Regions from separate parts of the Homo sapiens genome. Here regions 1 and 3 are each linked to region 2. The links are contacts of gene promoters, found by promoter capture Hi-C in blood cells and fetal thymus (Javierre and others, 2016). All regions are on one chromosome and are shown on one strand. The core of a region is centred on a gene start or on the middle of the fragment in contact, and the rest is flanking DNA. Distances in the headings are between cores, read along the strand shown. Region 1 overlaps SH3PXD2A (SH3 and PX domains 2A). Region 2 holds the start of COL17A1 (collagen type XVII alpha 1 chain). Region 3 overlaps SH3PXD2A (SH3 and PX domains 2A).

Region 1 (4,744 bases), core at 475-2,974, 260 kb before region 2:
TGTATTTTTGGTAAAGACAGGGTTTCACCAGGTCTCAAACTCCTAACCTTAGGTGATCTGCCTGCCTCGGCCTCCCGAAGTGCCGAGATTACAGGCATGAGCCACTGCGCCTGGCCTTATTTCATCCTTCTCATTTGACTTATTTGTGTAATTATTTCTCTTGAGTAATAGGCCATTGACCTTTTCTGGATGTTATACATACTGTGCACAAAAGCAACTTTATTAAACTTGCTATTTTTTGTTATTTGGAATACACACTCTAAGCAAAGACAGGGTGCTTCCTATGCAGATGTAACCCCTAGCTGTCCAAGTTCCCTGCAGAAATTCTGGAGCTCTCACACAGCTGCACACATACACAGGTTCTTCCCTGGCATCCTGCCATGGCCCCCCATTCCCTAAATCTAACACCAAACTTCTCATTCAGCCTCACACAAGCTCTGCCCTGATGCAGCACTCAGCCATGAGGGCATGGTGGGGGGGGAGCAGCACTTTCATGCCTGTTAACGAGGACCCCAGGAAGCCTGGAGCAAGCTCAGGGCAGCCTCTTCCCAGGGAGGGTGAAGAAGCTTACTTCTAACTAACTCACAGCCTCAAAGGAAACTGATCTGAATACCACCACCAAGCCCCCTTAGAGAATACCCCCTCTCTCCAAGGAACAATCCTCTAAACCCAAAGTAATAAGCTGAACCACCCAAAAAAATTTTTAAATGGACCAAGAATATAAATAAGCATTTACCAAAGAAGAAATACATATGGCTAACCCATACATGCTAAGACACTCCATCATCTCATGTGTAACTGAAAAAAGCCAAATCAGAACGACAAGATGTTATTTCTTTTCTATCTGGCTGACAGAAACAATCACGTTTGGTCAGATAGGTGCTGAAGTTATGAGGAAATAGATAGGTCTCAGACTTCGTGGGAGGGAGCTGAATTCTTTCAGGAGGGCCATTTGCCAACATATATCAAAATGAGAAATGCAAACTGACCCACCAATTCCCCTGCTAGGAATTTATCTTGGGGAATAAATTCACAAAAGTGTGTCAAGTTATATGTTCAAAGATGTTTTTGGCAGGATCCATCAAGTTGTCCTGGGAATCCTCAGAATAAATACTTTGCAACTGTCTCAAAATCTAGGTAGCCTAGGTTTGCTGACAGGGAGAGAGGATGTGCCACGGATGCCATGAGAAAAGCAGCGTGCAGAAAAATCCGTCTCTTTTGCAGAAGTCACCTTGAAGGCAATGCTGGCTTTGTGTAAGAAGGTGGCATTCCTGATTCAGGCCAGAGTTGACCCTTAACACCCACCTTGATTGAGACTGGCTTTAACCACTGCCCTTACAGGGTTGGGAGCATTATTCTGGCTGGCCTCATCACTGGGCTCCACCATTTCATGGCAACTGAGGCACAGAGGGAGGCCACCCTAGCAAGTTCCATGTGCTAGGCTCTGCACTGGAGACAGCCATACATCATTAAGCCCATGTAACCCATATACAAATCCTTGGGATGGGTACAAGCCCATCTAACAGAAGAAGATGCTGAGGGTCCAAAAGGATCAGTGACTTGCCCAAGGTCACACAGCTGGGATGTATTAACAGTAGAGCTTGGATTCCAGTCCCGGTGGGACTGATTCCAAACCCTGTGTTTTGTCCCTGCCTCATGGCGTGGCCTCACACTACAACTCACAGACTTTGGAAAGCTGAGGGAGCTTGGTGAGCCTAGGGAGTGGGAGGCAGGGAGGTGCCTGCAGACATGGCTGAGATGAGGGAAAGAAGGGCAGCGGGCAGGGGACAGGCTTCAGCTGGGACAGCCATGCCAGGCCAGTCAGCGTGTCAAGGCCGCACTCACTCCTGCAGAACAATGAAAAGAGACATCTCAGCACCCACACCCTAATGCCTCACTCGAGAGTGTCCCCTGAGATGTGTCCCTCATATTGTCCCTTGCCAGCTGACGGCCACTCCCCAACCCCTGGGAGGAAATGTATTGGCTTGCGGGGCTATTTTGAAGCTCTGAGGAATGTGCCTGACCTGGCACTCCCCTGGGAAACCCCTCATCCACTGACTGGCTCAGACCAAGCACCCTCCTTCTGCAGAAACCTCCAGGTGGCCCCAAGGGGAGGGTGGGCAGGCATGGAGTTTGTTTCTTTCGGTGGCTTGGAGCTTTGATTTCCTCGTCTTTAAAATGGGAAGGCATGAGGAAGGGCAGAGTTGGGAAATAACTGCAAGCTCTCCCTTAGCTTCTAATATTCTCTGTTCTCTGGGCTTTTCTGTGGCCAGGGGAGGTTTATTTGGAGGAATGCTGAAGCAGTCCCGAACTCAGCCCTTGCCCAGGCAAGTCCAGCTTCCAGCACAGAGGCTGGGTCAACCCGGAGGGGAAGCCACACAGCATCCACCGAGCCTCTGAGAACATTTTCCTTATCCTGATCTGAATCTACTTCCTGCTAATGCCCGCCCATACCCACTAGTTCTGCCTCTGGGGCCACAGAGAACATATCAAAATCCTCTCCTGAAAGAGGACATTTCACATAGCCCCTCTCCCGGCATCCCCTCGGCTTGAGGATAACCAGCCCTACTTCCTGTGGCTTCTGGTGACCAGTCCTGTGTCTCCACCATCCAGGCTGCCCTCCTACCCTGCTCTCATAAAATGTACACCAGGACCTGAATCCAACCTTCACCTGTGTAGACCAGGTGTAGACAGGCAGAGAGGGCAGAATGGAAGCAACTCTTGCCATGTCATCTCTCTATTTTTTGAGATACAGTCTCACTCCATCACCCTGGCTGGAGTGCAGTGGCACGATTTCTGCTCACTGCAACCTCCACCTCCCGGATTCAAGCAATTCTCGTGCCTCAGCCCCCTGAGTAGCTGGAGTTACAGAAGTGCACCACCAAGCTTGGCTAATTTTTGTATTTTTGTAGAGATAGGGTTTCGCCAAGTTATCCTGGCTGGTCTTGAACTCCTGGGCTCAAGTAATCCACCGGCTTAGGCCTCCCAAAGTGCTGAGCCATTGTGCCCAGCCTCTCTCTAAACTTTCTAAATCCTAAACCTCTACAAATGCATTCCAAGAAATGTGAATTCTGTGAATGCATCCCTAGGATTTGGAGAGGCATTTATACTGCTGGCTTCTGCTGGCTCCCAAACAACCCCAACCCTGACACCTCACACACCTGCTTCCATGAAAACCAAACCTCCTGCTGCCTACACTTGGGCCGCTGATTTCATCAGCGCCCATTACATTTTCTTTTCCTAGGACAGTATCATTTGTTGAGAATTTACTCAAGGTATAATGGCTGTTAACAGGCGTTGCAGGGAGGAGGGAAAGGGGAGTTATTATTTAATTGATACAGTTTCAATTTTGCAAGAGGTGGGTGTTTTATTCTTTTTGATGCTAATAAAAATGGAATTGTTTTCTTAATTTCCTCTTTGAATTGTTCATTCGAAACTCATTACATTTACATCTGTTCAGTTCTAAGCACTCTCTCTCCTTCCTCCCTGGTCACCTGTAAATGTGAACAGGATGCCATCAAAATATCATCCAAGTCACTGACCAACATTCCAGGTCAGAGACAGAGCATAGAGTCCTGTGGCATGCCCCTAGAGACTCTCCTTCCGGACAGCACTGACACACTTGGCTTAGTTCTGTATGAAGCTGAGAACAGGGTGCTCCTGGGTAAAACACAGCATCCGTAACAAATTTTTTTTTTTTTTTTTTTGAGACGGAGTCTCGCTCTGTCACCCAGGCTGGGGTGCAGTGGCGCAATCTCAGCTCACCGCAAGCTCCACCTCCCGGGTTCTCGCCATTCTCCTGCCTCAGCCTCCTGAGTAGCTGGGACTACAGGCTCCCGCCACCACGCCCGGCTAATTTTTTGTATTTTTAGTAGAGATAGGGTTTCACCATGTTAGCCAGGATGGTCTCAATCTCCTGACCTCGTGATCGGCCCACCTCGGCCTCCCAAAGTGCTGGGATTACAGGCGTGAGCCACCGTGCACGGCCAATTATTTTATTTTTCAAACCTAAGAGGAGCTCCCAATATGAAAGTATTGTCAGCAAGTTTTCTCATAAAATGAGAAATCTTGTAAATTAAACAAATCACAAATTGGCCTGCTTTGCACATCCAGAGTTTCATGACCTCTAGCTAATAAAGATGCCCATGTTTGCTCAGGTCACCATGTGTTGGGCTCCTGGCTGGGCATTTCAGGCACATCCATGCTATCATCATCCCTATTCTCCAAGTGAGGATACTTGGGCTCAGAGAGGTTCGGTGACTTGCCTAAGGTCACACAGATATAAACCCAGATGCATGTCCAGGTCTGTTGGACTCCAAAACTGTTCTTTCCACTGTGTGGTGCTGCCTCTCAGGTTTCCTTAAGGAGGCTGCACCTGTTTACATATTCTCTCCAGACTAAGCCCAGAACTCCATCCCAGGCCTCCAGCAGACTCCCCAGCTCCTGCAGGTGATCAAACAGCTTCAGATCTACTGAGAAACATGCAGATCCTAGGAGACAGAGGATCCCAGGATTCTGATGGAACTGGCTGTCCATGCTAGAATTTTCCCCCTAGTGAGTGTAATTCCTTCCAGGTCCCGGAGCACATTTTAGAGCCGGGCACTTTGTAATTCTGGTTAATGTCAGTCATCTCAGCTACTCTGTAACATCCCTTCTCTCCAGGCATGAAATTGTTTTGGTTCACCCGTGAATCTTCAGCACCTGATATGGTGTGTGGCACACAGTAGGCACTTAATAAATGCTG
Region 2 (4,657 bases), core at 56-2,555:
TAGAGTCAGGGTTTTGCCATGTTACCCAGGCTGGTAAGTTTCTATGCAAGCTTGAAGCAGAGCTGTTCACTTTAATTGTTCCTGTGTAAACTCTGATCAGACTCATGTGGGTGTTTTGCAGGGCCTAAGAGTAAAGCAGGACACCTCTGAATCTCTGGAGTGAGTCTGTGTGGGGATAGACATCTGTCTTAGGTTAGTTCTGACAGATCTGTGCCTTAGCTCTAAGAGAGAACATATGGAGGTAAGAAGAAACTATTCTGCTTTTCAAATAAATACCTTTTAAAAATCTTGCTACGTTTTACAAGTCCACTATTAGACTACTGATTAACTACTTCTCAAAAGAAGGAATGTGCCAGAGGTTTTGCCTCCACTTCAAAAAGTAAAGTGATAATTTGTCAGTTACCAGTTAACGTCATCCACTTAGGTATCTAAACTGGTAATTCTCATCTCAAAGTGAATTTTTTTGGCAGGAGGAAACCCAAGTTGACTCGTAAGAGTATATATACGGGAAACAATTTTCTTCCTTTTTTTATTCCTCTAAGTTTGATCCTGCAAAATTTCTGAATTAATCAGATCATTTCAAAGATCCTACTTTTCTTTAGATTAGAGGTAATTTTACAGCATGGTAAACAGCAATGTTTACCATGTATGGCTTAATCAGAGAGGCCCAGTCAGCACAGGGACTGTTTCTAGAAGGCCCCCTTACCTATACTTTAACTTCACCCCTGAGTTGTTCTCTTCGTCCAGTGGAGAGAGAGACAGAGGGAAGAGGAGAGCAAGATAGCGAGAGAGGAAACTGAGATTGGGAGAGAAGGAATTATAAGCCCGTATCATATTCTAAATAAAACAACACAAGTCATTTTACAATGCTGAAAACAATGCAGAAAGGTCTTGCCTCTAAAGCCCGCTATATTTTAACCAGCCTTCAGCCTTCTCCTTTTCCCCACTTATTTCCTTTGAAAGACCTACCCTAAGCAGAATGCATACACCAAAGTCATCTTTTATAACCAATTGATCACTTTAACCAGAATGCTAGAAACTACAGAACTTCATCTTCTTTTCTCCAATAAACATTTAATTTCTAAATGGCAAACCTTAAATCAAAGTCTCAGAGAAAAGGAGAAAGGTCAGTCTTCCTGTTTACTTACCTGGTTTGAGGTTTTGAAGGAATTGGAAACAACTTTGAATAAATCCCCCTCTCTCTTTCTTCTCCTGATGTTTTCTTCTAGAAATTTGCAGTGCTCACTTTTTTTTTATCCAGACCCAGCCAAGGTGTGTTAAAGCTGAGTGATCTTTCAAAAATGTTCACTTTTCTTTCTCTCCACCTTGTTTCTTTCAACTCTTTGCTTCCAAACATGTCCTGACAAAGGTGTGTCATGGTTTACAGCGTTACTCCACCCTTCCAATTATCTGACACTTGCTGGATTTAAAAAAAAAATCTGCCTCCAGGAATCAAACTTTACTGGAGGCAGAAAGCTTCTCCTTCCAGCTTAGGTAGATTAACTATTTATAAGGCCCATGGGGAAAAGGAAACAAAGGACCAGCATAAAGGAAATGCTTTTTTATTGCCTACCTTCTACAGCTGGAGAACTGCCACAACTTTGTGGCAGTACCCTTCCTCAGTGCCATGGGTACTGGAATCCCACTGCATGATTCATGAGTCTAGGCACGTGGATGGGCTCATGGATGAGCATGGTCTAGGCACATGGATGGCCTGTGGTCATACTGCCTGAGCCCTAGAAAAACTGAAGTTGGCAGGATTTATATTCAAGATCTGTTTCCCCTATAGATGTCTTCGTCCTCTGTTCCTGTGTCCTGTGTCCTTTGTCTTGTTTCCCCTATAGATGTCTTTGTCCTCTTTCCCCTCTTGTGACTCAAGCCAGGTCAAGCCCATCTGGAGAAAATAGTTGGTGAACTAATTCATAATATGCTAATGACTGAATGTACTGAGCAATTGGTGGGGTAGGGGTTCGTTTTACAAAAGAGGCAACCAGATATAGTGATGCTGACCTAAAAGAGTGACATGTTAGTGATGGAATTTTAGGCATTTAGCCACCTAATAATGGAGAGAGGTGCTGTTGGGAAGGGATAAGGACCTTCTTGTCCTTCAAATCAGGTGACCGCATAGTCTCCATACACCTAAAGACATGTGTGGGCTCCCAGATGTCCTGCAACTCCAAGTACATCCTGGGGACCTTTAGATTTCCCTAGAGGGTCAACTTGCATCAATCAGGATAATTCTTATGAATACCTGGATAGCATCTGGCTTCCCAGGGGGCCTAAAGACTAGCTTGAGACACTTGGTGTTGGTAAAATGGGAAGTCTGAACCTGGAACTCACTCAGGCAGTCCTTTGAGGCCATAGCACATTCCTGGGACCCAGCATCACACTGGGATTCCCAGTTCTGAGGCATTATCCTAAGATACTGGAGGGGAGCAGTGGGGCCCTTACAGCATAGCACCGATGTGCAACTGCACCTTGCTATTGTGGGCACTGCATCCCATGGAAGGGTAGCAGACCACAACAACAGCTGTGGGGCTCTTGCTCCTAAGCTGCCCATATTCCACACTGGAGTCGTGCATTTCAGAACCCTTTCAATTATGCAGAATTTGACACTTGCTTTGTAGGATGTTCTTGCCTTCCCCAAATAAATACTCAATATGTCTTCCGTCAGTTTCATAGTAGAAGAACACTGAAGAACCCAGAACACACAGAGCTTTCAGCATAAAATAGACATGCCCCTGCATCATTTATTTCTTTATTCATGAATTCAAGAATTAAACAAAAATATATTGGCTCCTGCTTGGAGCCAGACATTAAACTATGTGCTAAGAGTTTGGTGGTGAAATATGAACATAGTCCCTCTGCTTATGGAGTTCACAGTCTAATGGAGGAAGACAGGCCTTACATAATGTATTAGTCGGTGAGGGTTCCCATAACAAAATACGACGGACTGGGTGGCTTAAACAACACAAATTTATTTTTTCACAGTTCTGTGGGCCAGAAGTTCAAGATCAATGTGTCAGGAGGTTTGATTTCTCCTGAGACCCCCCTCTCCTTGGCTTGCAGATGGCCGCCTTCTTGCAGTATCCTCACATGGCCTTTCTCTGTGCATGCACATCCCTGATGTCTCTCTCTGTGTGTCCTCATCTCCTCTTCTTAAAGGACACAGTCAGATTGAATTAGAGTCCACCCTGATGGGCTCCTTTTTTACTTAAATTTAACTACTTCTTTAAAGACCCTATCTTCAAATAAATTCACTGAGGTACTAATGGCTAGGGCTTCACATATGAATTTTGGAGGGACATTATTCAGCCTATAACAGTTACGTACAATATATAATTGCAGATTATATATATATATATATTATAAGAGCAACTGCAAGAATATGATAACTATTATAAAGAAAGCATACTGACTTGAGGCCAGGAGTTCAAGACAAGCCTGGGCAGCATAGCAAGACCTTGTCTCTACTAAAAAAAAAAAAATAGCTGAGTATGATGGCATGTACCTGCAGTCCCAGTTACTCGGGTGGTTGAGAAAGGAGGATTGCATGAGCCTAGCAGTTCAAGGTTACAGTAAGCTATAATGGCGCCAGTGCACTCTAGCCTGGGTGACAGAGCAAGATCAGAAAGAAAGAGTACTGGCTACTGTGAGAGCGTAAGAAGAGACATAATCTTGGAGAGGGGTGTTAGGAAAAGTCCTGCTATATAAGTGATACATGAAGGTTGAAAAGAGATCACACAGGTGAAGGGCAGGGTGGAGAGTGTTCTACTATCTAGATGGGGCAAGAGTCTCTGAGAAGGCTCTCAGGTGGAAGCTGCACGGTGAGTTGGGGGAAGAGTGATGAGGCCAATTTGCTCAAAAGCATCAAGTGAAGGGAGGCAGGCAGCGGGCGAGAGGCTGGCAAGGGAGGCAGGACTAGATCACACAGGGCCTCACAGGCTGTGGAGGGTCATGTTTTGGGTTATGTGGCAAATGTTAAGTTGACATTAAGGAGCAACTCCCTACAGGCACTGTGTGGGTGTTCGGATTATTGATCCCAGGAAAGAAGAACGACTGCAACTAATGCTTTCTAGAACTACTGTAAGCCAGATTTTTTACATCCATTCTCTAACACAATCCCGACAACGACTCCGAGAGGTGTGTACCATTATTACCTTCATTTTATACCTGAGAAAAGTAAAGTTTGAGAGGCTGAGTAACAGGCCAAGGGTCTTCCATCTCATAAGTGGCAGAGTCTAATAGATTCCACTTGACTCTTGGACCTTCATTTCCCACTGCCTTGTGTATTATTAAAATTTAAGTCTGCCCATAGCTTTCAACTGAAAGAAAATAGGCAATATTAGAACAGATCAGGCTGAGGGCAAATTACAACTAAAAAAAACCCCAAACCATCTGAACAGTGGGGATGTTTTCAGTTAACAGCAGTATGGTATTGGAATAACTTATTGATAGTTTTAGATAGAAATCTATTTATAGAACTCAGCAACCACAGACCAATCAATTTTTCAACTATAACAACTATATAAAACCAAACACACAGGCCAGGTATTGTGGCTTATGCCTATAATCCCAGCACTCTGGGACGCCAAGGCAGGAGGATCTCTTGAGGCCAGGAGTCTAAGAGTAGCCTGGGCAACATAGTGAGACCCCC
Region 3 (4,526 bases), core at 1,753-4,252, 290 kb before region 2:
CACACACACACACACACACACAACACTCACCTGGCCACCACCAAAGATCCCCCTTCCCTTCATTCTCCAGTTTGGAGGGGGGCACTGTCACCCAACACACTTTCCAGACAACTTTCCTGTTGGTTATCCAAAGAGGGGTAAGATGAAGGCCCAGTAGGGGCAGAGCTGAATTTTCTAAGTTGGACCTTTGGGCCTAGGAGCAGAGGAGGAAGGAGGTGGCAGAGGCTGCAACTGCATTCCAACGCCTCCCTGACGTGACACCCAAACACACCCTGACATGACACTGCACACCAGGAAAACAAGGTGTGCAGCTCTGAACAGTCATGAAGGTGGTGTGAGCTGACTCTGACACTGCCCCTGGCAAAGCTGGGGTTTATTATTCAACAATGAGAGAGGCAGGTGACGGTGTGCAGGAGATGTGGGCTGAGCTCCAGGAAGCAGCTGAGCCTGGGAGGGAGCCACCAGCGACCTTTCTGGGATCTAGAGAGAAGTCTTCAGCTCTTTGCAACGGCAGCTTCTCTCTAGGCAGAGTGAATGGTTCCCCACCCCTCCCTCCAGGCACACTCTCAGTGAGGCAACAGAAGCTTCCTGCCCTCATCAGCCAAAAACAGAAAGAGGACTTTCTTTTTTTTTTTTTGAGATGGAGTCTCGCTGTGTCGCCCAGGCTGGAGAGCAGTGGTGCGATCTCGGCTCACTGCAAGCTCCGCCTCCCGGGTTCAAGCCATTCTCCTGCCTCAGCCTCCCGGGTAGCTGGGAATACAGGCGCCCGCCATCACCCCTGGCTAATTTTTTTGTATTTTTAGTAGAGACGGGGTTTCACGTGTTAGCCAGGATGGTCTCGATCTCCTGACCTCGTGATCCACCCGCCTCGGCCTCCCAAAATGCTGGGATTACAGGTGTGAGCCACCGCGCCCGGCCCAGAAAGAGGACTTCTGAGTGGAAGGCTAGGAACTCAGATTGGAGTGAGCTAGAAGCGAGAGTACCAGAGTTCTAGTCCTGCTGTCACTTGCTGTGATCTTGGACAAATCACTCCCTGCTTGGGACCTCATTTCCTTGTCTGTCAAATAAGGGAAATGGGCAAGATCAGAGGGCGGCCAGTTAGTTTCATCTCAAGGTGCCATTGCCAACTGATAGGTAGTGACTTCCTAAAGATACTCGGTTTTGTTTTTTAGAAAGACTCTGAGACCATGTCTGGGCTCGTAATCAATTAACAATGCCTGCCATGGGTACAGGACAGGAGAATGCCATGATCAATTAGTGATGTCTGCTGTAGGCATGAGTGGGAGATAGCAACATGAGTGCCAGATACTTGTCATCCTGCTAGATATCTCTAAGGGCTTCCTGGTTGGAAAACTTATAATTCCACCACTGATTTCCCAGCGGACATCGTTAACATCAGTTGACAAACATGTACCTCCCATATTGTGCTATTTGCACACAGCTGATTTCTCTCCCTGAAAGGGACATTCTCAGCCCTGCTGGACAGTCACTGGGGGAGCAGTGATGCCCCCAAGGCTCCTAGCACTCACACTCACAAGACGTCACCCAGAAATTTAGAGCCAATGAACAGTGCCAAGGACTGACACCCAGAGGACATTCCAGCTTCTTACAATTTTCCCCAGTTTACAAAAGAGCTTCCCCCGCTGTATGAAAATCCCACATTGACCCCATGGAGAGGCTGGGGGTGCAGCAAAGGGCGGAGATGGCTTTTGATTTTCTACTGCACAAATGAGGGTCTGATCTGACAGGGCCTTGAGTCCATTAGGAATAGGATTTGGCCAAACACCCTGTGAACACCGTGAATACCCTGGGCCTGGATCAAATGCACACAACCATCCAAAATGAGGCTCACAGAGCGAGTCCTCAACTGTATAGGAAAGGTGTGATTTCCCACACAGACCCACAGCACGGTGCATATCTGACAACTCCCAGCGGCTTCAGTGTCACACAAGTTCCCCAGCTCTCTTGATGTCCACAGGCTCTGGCTGGGTGGAGAGTTCTCCTGAGGGCAGGCCCCGAGGCGGTGATTCTCAGGGCCTGAGCTCAGCCCTCTGGGTCTTATTTCCCTTTATGCATAGATGTGCAGAGACCTCTCCTAGATGCTCTATCCCCGCTGCCACCACCTTCCTTCCGTACCTCTCTCCATCTGCTTGGAACCAGGTCCCGAGTTGCTCTGGACCTGAGAGGCCCCCACAAGCACAGGGGTCTTCCTAAACCCACAAGGTTGGGAAACTGCACGAGAAGTTGCAAACTCCATCTGCTTAAAGGGGAAAAAAGATCAACCCAAACTTTTCCCAACACCCTCCAGCCGGACCCAGGTAACCCCAGGATTCAAACTCAATGGTAACTGGCTTTCCCATCCTGAGCCTGCCCAGAGGTGCCAGTTCACCCTGGTCTTCCTCTCCCAATATTCCACAACTCCCTCACCTGCTAACAGGATCTGCCAAAGGGGAACTCAGGAGAGGCAGGAGGAAGCTGGAGTTCATACTCAGGCCACAGGCACAAGTTGAAAGGGGCGCTGGAGCCCAGCCAGCTCCCAGGTGGAGCGGAGCCAGCCAGGGAATCCCCAAGAGCCGATGGAAGCCCCACAAGGCTCCCCTGGAACCCCTATGTGTTCCTTCAGGAATCAAAGATGCCTCTTTCCAGGAGCAAGGAAAAGCTGTCAACTAATAATTACTTTTTAAAAAACAATGTTTTCCTAACAGCATTGTTGGAAGGGAAATAGGTTTGTAGTTAAACTTTGAAGGTGAAAATCATTTATCTAGAAAACCTTTAACACTGCCTTCTGCCTCTCTTCCCTGGAGGCAGGCCGAGCTATTTGGTGAAAGTGATGTCTACATTAACGGGGCACAGGAAGAAACTTCTGTCTCTAGATGGAGTGGGGCTCTCTGGCTTTTTGGAGTTTTAAGCTTCTGAGGGCCTAATTGGTGACATTTCAGCTTACCTGTCTGGCGTCTCTGTGCCAGTCCTATCCTAAGGGCTTTCTTTATATGGACTGTGTCATTTTATTTTTCCTGTTACCCAGTGAGGCAGTTATTACTATACACCCATTATACAGATGAGAAATCAAGCACAGAGAGGTTAAATCACTCATCAAAGCTTAGACAGTAAGCGCTGGGGCTGGTCTTGAAACCCAAGTGCCCTGGCCCTGGAGCACATGCCCTTAGCCACTGTGCCCCAGCAACACACAACTCTGAGTACAGTTTCGTCATGACACAAGAACCCCCACCCAACTGCTTCCTGCCTCAATATGTAGTTTGCAGATTTTGAGTAATATCTGAATACAAGATTCCAGTTGGACAAGATAATTTGGACAGGTCCCTGGGGTTGGTTGTAATGGGATCTAACCAGTTTACATTCCACAGGAATGATCTAGAATGATGGTCCAGGAAATATGAGGTAATGTGATTTTTATAATGAGTTTCATGTCCTCCTTGTTAGACATGTTCTTATGTTTACTTTTTTCACCTGTGCTTTCTGTCCCATTATACCATAATGACCAGGAAAGACATATTTTATTTTTGACTTCCCACCAACCCTAGCTCCCCCAATAGGTGACTCTTTAACTATTCAATATTAATGTTGCAAATAATATATGAATGCATTCTCCTTTTCTAAAAGAGTAAAACATTAAGATAAGGTTCCCCCTTTATCAAGCCCTTCCTCCTACTGATATCCCTAACCCCCATCTAGAGATGAGTCGGATACCAATCTGGAGTACAGCCTTCTAGATTAAAAAACATTTACATTCATATGCTGGATATGTACCTGCAAAATATAAATCTTGTTCTTGGGTTTTTTTTTATATAATTATTATCATACTATAAGTACTGTTTTGAAACTTGCATTGTTTGTTCAGAATGTTTCTTGGAGATCCACCCATGGATCAGTCTCATTTGCTTTGACTGCTGTACTAAGTGCTGTGAGAATATCACAGTTGACTTAGCAACTCTGTATGGATGGTCTTTTAGGCTGTTTCCCATTTTTGCCATTGCAAACAACATGAGGCTGTCTGTGCCTGCCTGGGACCAGTGAATGACCTCAGTCAAGGCTGATGTTCTCCTCTGTCTAAGGCATGTGAGCATTCACAATGACCCATGCTCAGCACATTCTGGAGCTGGCACTGCCACACCAGGTGTGCTGGAGCTCTCTGCAATCCTTGGTACAAGATCATTCTTAGAACTTAGCAGGTTACCTCCCCAGGCTGTGGCCTCATCGCTTTAGTCTAGGGTCAGTAATCTCGAACAAATTCCCTCAATGATTAAAAGGCAGAGTGCCTGCGGAAGAGACATTTCCTCCTCTTTTCTGCTTTCAGGTTGGTTCTTGGCACACACTGGGATCACCCCAGGTTGATCTCAGCTGAGGCCTGCTTTGGATATTAAACCAAATGAAAGCTTATATAAATTTAATGAATAGAAAAATTAACACAGTTTGTTACCTGCAAAGTGAGGCACTTGGAATAAGAACTCCTCTAACTCTAAAAATGCAATGATCCCATAAAGCTCCGTAAGTGACATCAGTACACA

Evidence for each region. Contacts are between HindIII fragments. The CHiCAGO score rates a contact against its expected background, and 5 or more counts as called.
Region 1: a contact is called between a fragment that was not itself captured here and the fragment with the promoter of COL17A1 in region 2, in 1 of 17 cell types (naive CD8 T cells). The highest score is 5.1, in naive CD8 T cells.
Region 3: a contact is called between a fragment that was not itself captured here and the fragment with the promoter of COL17A1 in region 2, in 3 of 17 cell types (total CD8 T cells, M1 macrophages and naive CD8 T cells). The highest score is 8.6, in total CD8 T cells.

What each region holds. Positions count from the first base shown.
Region 1 is chr10:103,822,075-103,826,818 of GRCh38, forward strand. The region is part of intron 1 of SH3PXD2A (SH3 and PX domains 2A); the gene reads right to left. Among named protein-coding and RNA genes, the nearest start is that of SH3PXD2A, 31 kb to the right of the region's middle. The HindIII fragment of the contact is 2,320 bases long and covers 565-2,884 here.
Region 2 is chr10:104,084,575-104,089,231 of GRCh38, forward strand. It overlaps COL17A1 (collagen type XVII alpha 1 chain), which reads right to left and starts at 1,306. Exons shown (of 56, transcript NM_000494.4): 1 at 1,149-1,306. The HindIII fragment of the contact is 1,426 bases long and covers 49-1,474 here.
Region 3 is chr10:103,789,536-103,794,061 of GRCh38, forward strand. All of the region lies in intron 2 of SH3PXD2A (SH3 and PX domains 2A), which reads right to left. Among named protein-coding and RNA genes, the nearest start is that of SH3PXD2A-AS1, 45 kb to the left of the region's middle. RefSeq lists an enhancer at 252-1,252. The HindIII fragment of the contact is 190 bases long and covers 2,908-3,097 here.